Linked DNA regions of Homo sapiens: regions 1 and 3 are each linked to region 2. The links are contacts of gene promoters, found by promoter capture Hi-C in blood cells and fetal thymus (Javierre and others, 2016). All regions are on one chromosome and are shown on one strand. Each heading gives the region's core, a stretch centred on a gene start or on the middle of the fragment in contact. The rest is flanking DNA. Distances are from core to core; before and after follow the strand shown. Region 1 overlaps ZDHHC8 (zDHHC palmitoyltransferase 8). Region 2 holds the start of ZNF74 (zinc finger protein 74). Region 3 has its middle 25 kb from the start of CCDC188.

What was found. Contacts are between HindIII fragments. The CHiCAGO score rates a contact against its expected background, and 5 or more counts as called.
Region 1: a contact is called between a fragment that was not itself captured here and the fragment with the promoter of ZNF74 in region 2, in 1 of 17 cell types (erythroblasts). The highest score is 5.0, in erythroblasts.
Region 3: a fragment that was not itself captured here is called in contact with the fragment with the promoter of ZNF74 in region 2 in 1 of 17 cell types (M0 macrophages); the score reaches 6.7 in M0 macrophages.

What each region holds. Positions count from the first base shown.
Region 1 is chr22:20,138,426-20,141,125 of GRCh38, reverse strand. ZDHHC8 (zDHHC palmitoyltransferase 8) reads right to left here. Exons shown (of 11, transcript NM_013373.4): 2 at 1,811-1,932; 3 at 1,491-1,648; 4 at 1,234-1,406; 5 at 909-1,011; 6 at 418-509; 7 at 114-255. Among named protein-coding and RNA genes, the nearest start is that of ZDHHC8, 8.0 kb to the right of the region's middle. The HindIII fragment of the contact is 2,442 bases long and covers 158-2,599 here.
Region 2 is chr22:20,392,732-20,395,482 of GRCh38, reverse strand. It overlaps ZNF74 (zinc finger protein 74), which reads right to left and starts at 1,332. Exons shown (of 5, transcript NM_003426.4): 1 at 821-1,332; 2 at 65-150. The coding sequence starts at 854. RefSeq lists enhancers at 1,152-1,291, 1,762-1,831, 1,233-2,222. The HindIII fragment of the contact is 14,387 bases long and covers 1-2,751 here.
Region 3 is chr22:20,174,356-20,177,055 of GRCh38, reverse strand. No RefSeq gene overlaps it. Among named protein-coding and RNA genes, the nearest start is that of CCDC188, 25 kb to the right of the region's middle. RefSeq lists an enhancer at 1-265. The HindIII fragment of the contact is 2,001 bases long and covers 348-2,348 here.

The DNA of each region.
Region 1 (2,700 bases), core at 129-2,628, 250 kb after region 2:
AATCTGTCTACGGCTCTGTCTGCCCCATCCACCTCTTCTAGGCCCCCACCAACCTGCCTGTTTCCCCATCCAAGGGCCTGACTGCCAGCCCATCCCTAAGCCCAGGCGCCCACCTTGCTACGGCCCAGGCCAGCCTTCAGCCCGTTGTCACTAAGCTTGACCTTGAGCGGTGCAGCTCGGTCCAGGAGTTCAGGCCTAAGGAAAGGCGGCTTCAAACTCACCGCGAGCGGCAGCCGGGGTGGCTCCACCACGTACCTGCACCAGGGCACAGGGGTCAGTAGCCAGCCCACCTGCCACAAACACACAAGGGCAGGGCTGGCCATACCTGGCAAGAGCCAAACGGACCAAGAGGGTCTAAGGCTGCCCGCCCCACACCCAGCAGAGGCCCCCCTCCACCCTGCCCAGGCCGGGCCTCACCGGGGCGCCAGGGGGCTACACAGCACGTGCTCCACATTCCCACAGCAGCCTCGGGTGAAAGGGTTCACACCCCCGCGGAACTTCCCAGTCACCTGTGGATGCAGGACCCTCAGCCAGCCTGGCCTCCCAAGGTCCAGGCCAGGGTGGGCAGGGGGCTGGGCAAGGGAGCTGGGGTTCCTTAGAAGCTGATACTTGCGGGAAGTGGCTTAGGTGGGATCAGCCCAGGGCTGCCCCTCACATAGGTTACCCAGCCTGAACTTGCAGGGAGCTGTGGGATTTCTGGGTCACTGGTGGCCACAGTGTCCACAGGCAGGATGTGCGCAGGGGACGGGGCAGGCGTAGCCCCACGTGGGGGTCTCAGAGTTGGAGCCTCGTCTCAACACAGCTGCACAAGCTACCTCAGGCAAGGGTGCCCCAGCCCCCACCCTGTCCCCATGCAGCCCCAACTCTCTCGGCCCTTTGGGGCCACCCATCCCCCATGGGGTCTGCACCTGCTCGTTGGTGGTGCGCCCCCGAGTGACCAGCACCACATGGAAGCCAGTGAGGCCAATGACAGGGATGAAGAAGAGGCCGGCCACACACATGACAGCCATGCTAGCCCGTTAAGGCCAACGGTGCAGGCCAGGACACCGCAGACCCCATCGCAGCAGCACAGAGCAGGTGCCTGTGGACAAACCTCCTCCCAACCTAGGGACGGCCACCTGCCCACTGGGGATCCCTGGGCAGGAACCAAGCCTTCTGAGGCTCAATCTCCCTGGTGAACGTGTCCCCGGTCCACATCGCCTCTGCAATGAGGCCCACAGGAACCAAGGATACGTGATGGTGGTGTGCGCGGCTCCCAGCCCCTCAGCGTGGTTCAGCACGTAGACCAGGCCGAAGGCCACGACGCCCACCATGTGTGCACTGAGTGACAGCAGGAACAGGAAGAAGTAGCGATAGTTTCGACGCCCGATGCAGTTGTTGACCCAGGGGCAGTGGTGGTCAAAGTCCTGGGCGGGAGCAGTGCATCAGGGCACATGGCAGGCAGGGATGTGGCACAGGGCTGGGGGAGCGCGGGGCAGCAGGGCGGTCACCTCTACACAGTTGTCACAGACGCTGCAGTGGGAGCAGCGCGGCGGGCGGTAGAAGTGGCACGTGGCACACCACTTCATGCGGACCTGGATACCTCGCACATCCACGTTCTTGTACAGCGGAGCCCGGAAGTCGTCCTCCTTGTCCTCATCCTCATCCGCTACAGACCAGGAGCCAGGCAGTGAGCAGGAAGTTGACTTTCCTGGCAGGTGAATCCCTCCCCCAAGTCCAGCCCACCCACCAGGAATCCCTAAGGCTGTCTCAAGTTAGCCACTCACACTCTAGTGAAAGTGAGAGGAGCTGCCGCAGCACAGGGCCCTACCTCGGGGGAAAACACCAGGGTCCATGAAAGTGGCCATGCTGAAGTTGGCCAGGACAAAGAGGAAGATGATGCCATTGTAGACGGGAACAGCTGGGGACACAGCTCGTGTCAACCACGGGCACCTGCAGTAGACAGTGGGGGCAGAGAGTGGAGTCTGGGGGTGCAGAGCGGATGCAGGCGCAGAGCTATGTGGTGCGGCAGGCTGGGCCTGCAAGGTCACCCTCAGAGCTCAGAGGCAGTGGGGAGGCTGCCACAGCCCTGCCAAGAAACCTCAGCCACATCGCTCCTTCGAGTAACGGCCAGAGGCTGTGCGTATCAGTACAGCATGTGGGCTACCCGTGCCCTGACCCGGCAACCTCTCAGGGCAGCCGTCTCAGAGAGGCCCACAGACCTAAGGTCACCCCATTCCAGCGACCTAGGCTCCATGACTGGGGCGGGGTAGGGGGCGGGGGCGGTACACAGGCTGGAGGTGGGAGCCCCAGATGGAAAATGCGCCACGATGCCTCATCCAGGCCTGTCCCTGGCCCAGTGGGGCCTCTCACCAGGCAGATTCTGGGGTGTGGGGAGCCCCAGTCCTTGGTCAGTAAGTGCATGGGGCATGTCTCCCCTACTCTTCCCAGTCAGGCACATCCCCATCCAGACAGCCCCTTCTTTTTAGTTTGTCACCTCCCTCCCCAGATGACAAAGTAGAACACTTAGGGACTCTAGAATGCACAACACCCCCCACCACTTCCCATCTTCCCAGCCATCAGCACTTGGCTCCAAGGCCACCCCCTCTTCCGGGAAGCTTTCCAGGACTCCAGGCTGCCCTCTGCAGCTTCCCTATAAGGTGTGCCCTCACACACCTTCCTGAAAGGCGCCTTCCTCAGCCCTTAACGGGCCTGGCCCGA
Region 2 (2,751 bases), core at 83-2,582:
CCAGGGCTGGGGAGGGAATGTGCCAACCCTCTTCATAAAGAAGGAAGAACACACAGCCACTCACCTTGGACCTGGCTTCGGGAAGACCCCAACCCGATATATCCTCGAGATTCTCTTTCAGGGAAAGAGCAGGATCCTGAGAGGAAAGAGCTGGCGAAGGAGAAATGAGTCAAGGTCACGGCTACCAGGCTCACGGCTGAGCTTAAAGCCCACCTGTCGTGGCACAAGTGAGAATCAGAGAGGAGGCAGAACCTGCCAGCAAGGCCAGGTGGGGAACGAGCCCCAGTAGCTAGCACCAACAGAAACAGCATCGAGGAATAATCTGCCTGTGTCTCAGACACTCCAATTCATGACGAAAAGAGCTGCTACCCCCAATCAAGCACGTCTGAGTGGGAACAAATGATTGGGCGCGGGGAAGAAAGAAGCAGGAGGCCAGGAGCGATGGCTCACGCCTGTAATCCCAGCACTTTGGGAGGCCGAGGCGGGCGGATCGCTTGAGCTTAAGACCAGCCTGGGAAACATGGCAAAACCCCGTCTCTACTAAAAATACAAACATTAGCCGGGCGTGGTGGCGCGCGCCTGCAATCCCAACTACTTGGGAGGTTGAGGCGGGAGAATAGTTTGAACCCGGGAAGCAGAGGTTGCAGTGAGCGGAGATCAAGCCATTGCACCACTCCCGCCTGGGTGACAGAGTGAGATTCCATTTAAAAAAAAAAAAAAAGATGCTGGATGCTTCTGGGAAACTGGCCTGATCTCTCTGAGTGTCAATATCCTCAAGTGCAAATCCACAGACATACTGACTACAAGAGTGAAGCTGTACCTGTCTTCTCGGGCTCCGGGGCAGGGATCTCCATGGCCTCCACGGCAGCCTCCCCAGGAGGAGTGGGCAGCTGTGTAGCCTCCAGGATCCAGGGCAGGCCCTGAAGAGCGAGTACTGCTCCTGGGGCTGAGGGGCCTGCAGCGGAGCCCCGCGGGGCGGCCACGCGCTCACAGCTGCACGATCACACGCACGGAGCCCCCTCCCCGCGCCCGGCTGAGGTGGGGTTCAGGCCGGCTCCGCAGATACCCACTCCCCACACCAGGCTCAGCCCCATGCTCGGCGCACTCACGCCCCGGCACACCCCCGCCACACGCTCCTCCCGGCGAACCCGCGCTCGGAGACCAGGGCCAGGCCTAAGGTTCCGCGGCCAGGAGCCATCGGACGCGGAGCGACCAGCGGACAGGTCCCGAAGCGGACAGAGACCGCCGACGGTCTGAGGGACCGGCAAGTGGACAGACCGGACTCCCACAAAAGGACTGCGACTGCCACAAAGAGCAGCAGGCGGCCGCTGCGGGAAAGCGCGCCTGCGCGAAATAGGCGCAAACTACACCTCCCGGGAGCGTTTGCGCCGCGCAGGCGTCAGACTCCATTTCCTAGAGCGAGTTCGGGCCGGTGCTTGCGTCCCGACGCGAACGAGTATCTAGCACATCCTTCTAGGAAATGTAGTTCCTGGGCCCACAGCCGGGAGCTCCGGCACCCACCATGCTCTTGCGGGCGGATGTCGCTGTGTATCTCCGTGTGCGGATCAGTGTAGTGCCGCTGCATGGGTGTCTAATTGCGAGGATACTGGGAGGGCGGTGTCCAGGAACTAGAATTTGTCCTGTTAGTTCGTCCACGTCCCCACGTAGCTGGGAGTCGGGTGGGTTCCTGCCCACATCTGTCTGCAGGAAAGACTCAAGCCCCTGGTCTTACGGATATTGGGAGTGGTGGGTCTGGCCTCGAGGGGTTTTCCAGGGGCCCTGCCCCCACTCCCCCTTCTCGAGCCACATATCTGAGGCCCATGGGCGCGGGTCCCCAGAGGTGGGAGAGCCTTGGCCTAGTCCCCCCAGAGGGTCCTGTCCACAGTTCACCCCTGGGGCGGGAAAGGAAGGTCTGGGTGGCGGCCCAGTCCTGGCGGCACAGAGCTCTGCCATGAACACAGTGATGACGCCAGCGACAGAAACATTGAATATGTACTGAGCACCAACCAAACGCCAGGCCTACTTCAAGAGCTTGGAGTACATTTTTCTGGCAGAATGCTCACAGCAGTCCAGGGAGGTTTGCTAACTACTGTCATCCCATTTGGGAGATGAGGAAGTTGTGGTACAGGTGCGTGGGGTAACGTGTCGCAAATCACACAGCCAGAAGTAGGAATCCAGCACCGAAGTGCATTGCCACATTCCTACTGAGAGGTGGTCCGGGGTGGTGCACACTCCAAACCCTTCAGCCTCCCACCTTAACCGCAGCTTAGGCTTGGCCACAGGCTCTCACGTGACACCTGTCCACTGCCCACATCAGCACAGCTGTGCCCAGACCTCCCCTGCCCAGGGCAGCGCCCGTGTTTGATTTTGTTTTGAGACTGGGTCTCACTCTGTCGCCCAGGCTGGAGTGCAGTTGCACAATCACGGCTCACCGTAGCCTCAGTCTCTCGGGCTCAAACTATTCTCCCACCTCAGCCTCCGGAGTAGCTGGGACTTACAGACATGCACCACCACGCCCGGTTAATTTTTATATTCAGCGCCCATTTTTAATAGCAACCCAGTGAGAGGGGACAGCGTGCTGGCAGTCCTCACAGCCCTTGCTCGCTCTCGGCGCCTAGTCGGCCTTGGCGCCCACTCTGGCCGCGCTTGAGGAGCCCTTCAGCCCACCGCTGCACTGTGGGAGCCCCTTCCTGGGCTGGCTGCGGCCGGAGCCGGCTCCCTCAGCTTGCCGAGAGGTGTGGAGGGAGAGGC
Region 3 (2,700 bases), core at 99-2,598, 220 kb after region 2:
AACACAATTAATTAGCCCCTAAAAAAAGCGTTTGAAGTGTTTATTGCAGGACGGCGCTCCTGGTTTTATAAACAGATGGGGAAATAAAGTGGTGGGGATGACAAGCCGGGAACAGCTGCACAGGGACCCGGAACCTAATTCATAATTCAGCAGACTAATCAGAGAACATCTTCTGCAGGCGCCATAACGAAGGGACGTGAGGCCGCAACTGATGAGCCAATCCCCATGCGCCTGCCACGCCAGCCACGCCCCTGCACTGCTGACCCCAGTGTGAGCCCCTGCCTCCAGCCCTGGCCTGACCGAAGCACCCAGCCCCATCCCTGGTCACAATGACCTCCTGCCAAGCTTTCAGCAGGCGTTTTCTCAGCAGCTCCCTGCAACATTTAGTCACAAGCCCATTTTTCAGGAGAGGAAACTGAGGCGCAGGGAGAGTGAGCCTGAGGGACCTGCCCTGGTGGGTGCATACCCCCACAAGCCCTGGATCCCCAATCCACTGCCCAGGGGTGCACCCAAAGAGGTGGGTTTGGCCCTCCTGGACCACCCTGGATCCTCTTGTGCAGGAGGGACTCCAAGTAGACTGAGGAGCTCTTCCCTTCCAGCAGTTGAGATGTGGAGGGAGAAGGAAGAAGGGGGAGAGTGTTTACCAGCCAAGAGGACGTGGGATGGGTGTGAGGCTGGCCTTTGAGGAGCATGGACTGGGCGGGGACCTACCGGTGGGTTGTACATGGGGAAGCCCATGGGCCCCGAGCAGGGAACCTGGAATAATTGAACATAAAAATTCACATGCATTTGGCCAGGCGCAGTGGCTCACACCTGTGATCCCAGCATTTTGGGAGGCCGAGGTGGGAGGATCACTTGAGGTCAGGAGTTTGAGACCAGTCTGGCTAACATGGCGAAACCCCGTCTCTACTAAAAATACAAAAAAATTAGCCAGGCGTGGTGGCGCACGCCTATAGTCCCAGCTACTTGGGAGGCTGAGGCAGGAGAATTGCTTGAACCCAGGAGGTGGAGGTTACAGTGAGCCAAGATCGCGCCACTGCACTCCAGCCTGGGTGACAGAGTGAGACTCCATCTCAAAACAATAAAATAAAATAAAATAATTCACATGCATTTTATGAATCTTCTAGCTCCGACAGGAGCCCCAGTGTTCACAGCAGTCGTGGACTGTAAAATGCACAAGATGAAATGTTTGTGACAGCCGTAAAGTCCTCGTTTTCTCCTCGGCTGCAGTGGAAACATGGGGCAGCGGGGCCGTGGGCGCCAAGCCTCCCCATCCCCCGCTGGCCCCTGCCCCTGCCGCACGTGCTCGTGTGTGCCCTGTGAGTACCCAGCAAGACATGGGGACTGAGGAAAGAGCCCAGCTCACACCTGCCCTCTGCAGCTCACGGCCTCCTCAGGCAGACATATGGGGTCAATTAAACTCTGCAACAAGCCTTTTACTTAAACACATCAAACCACAAATACCATCAGAGTGGTTGATGTCGTAGCAGAGGAAGGCAAGGGGGCTGCGGTGCCTACAGGGGTAGTTCAGGGGCCTTGTGGAGTTGGGCTCCAAAGTCTAGGTAGGAGCTTGCCAGTGTGAGCAGCACCAGTCACCCGCCACTGTGGCACTGGCGCCGGATGGGACTCAGACGTGGGTTAGAAAGCCCCCAGTCAGACCCTCACCCCAACCCCCACTGGACCTCACATGCTTTCTCCCCACAGGATTTCAGAGGATGGCAGGGGAATGGGGAAACATGTGTCCGGCTACCTGCTGCTGCATGACAAAGCAGCCCAGTCTCTTGTGTGCTTGGTCTGTGGGTCTGGAGCCCGGGCAGGGCCCAGCAGGGCGGTGTGGGCAGCTCTTCTGCTGTGCATGGCATCGAGGGGGCATTCAGTGTACTCAGCCCCAGCTGTGCCCCCAGGCCTGGCCTCGGCAGACCGGCTGCAGGGCTGAGCCCCACAGGCCCTCCCGCTCCGTGGGCTCTCCCTGCTGGTCAGATTCCTTCAAGGCAGCTCAGGACCAAAAGCAGAAAGCAGAACAGCTGGGCTCTGAGGGCCTGGGGTGCAGCGCAGCGCCATGTCCACCCAACACCAATGGTCAAAGCTGTCCAGGCCTTCCTAGGTCCAGGGAGGGATGAAGACTGACAGACTCACAGAAGGTCAAGGAATGTGCGTTTGGCCCCGTTGAGTCTCTGCAGGATGGGCTCAGTACAAAGCGCTGGGCAGGGCAGAGGAGCAGAGCCCACCTGGACCCCAGCCAGGAGCCCACAAGTGCCAACAGCTCCCTGGGAAACAGGACCAGGGCCCCCAGCTCCTGGGTGGGCGAGGTATGCAGTAACTGGCCCCTCAGGGGGTGGAGCCAAGCTTGGAGACCCCTGCCGAGGCAGGGTCTCAGTGCTGAAGCAGGATTTGGACCCACTTTTTCTGTACTCTGACCCCTTTCCCAAAGTCAACCTCCCTTTGAGGTCCTCTCCCCAAAACACCCCCTGACCAGCACAGCCCTCCTCTGCGTGCTGCAGGCAGACTCCTCCCTGTTCCTACACCACCTGCCCGAGGTCCCCCAGCTCTTGAATGGCAGAGTGAGGACATGAAGCCGGTGTCCCTGACTCCAGGGCTGTGTTCTTGGCCCCAGCCCGGACCCCCGCATGCATCTACATCTGCTGTCTGCACTTGGTACCTGCCGCTCTTCCCCGGCCCCCACTGTCCCACAGTGAGACA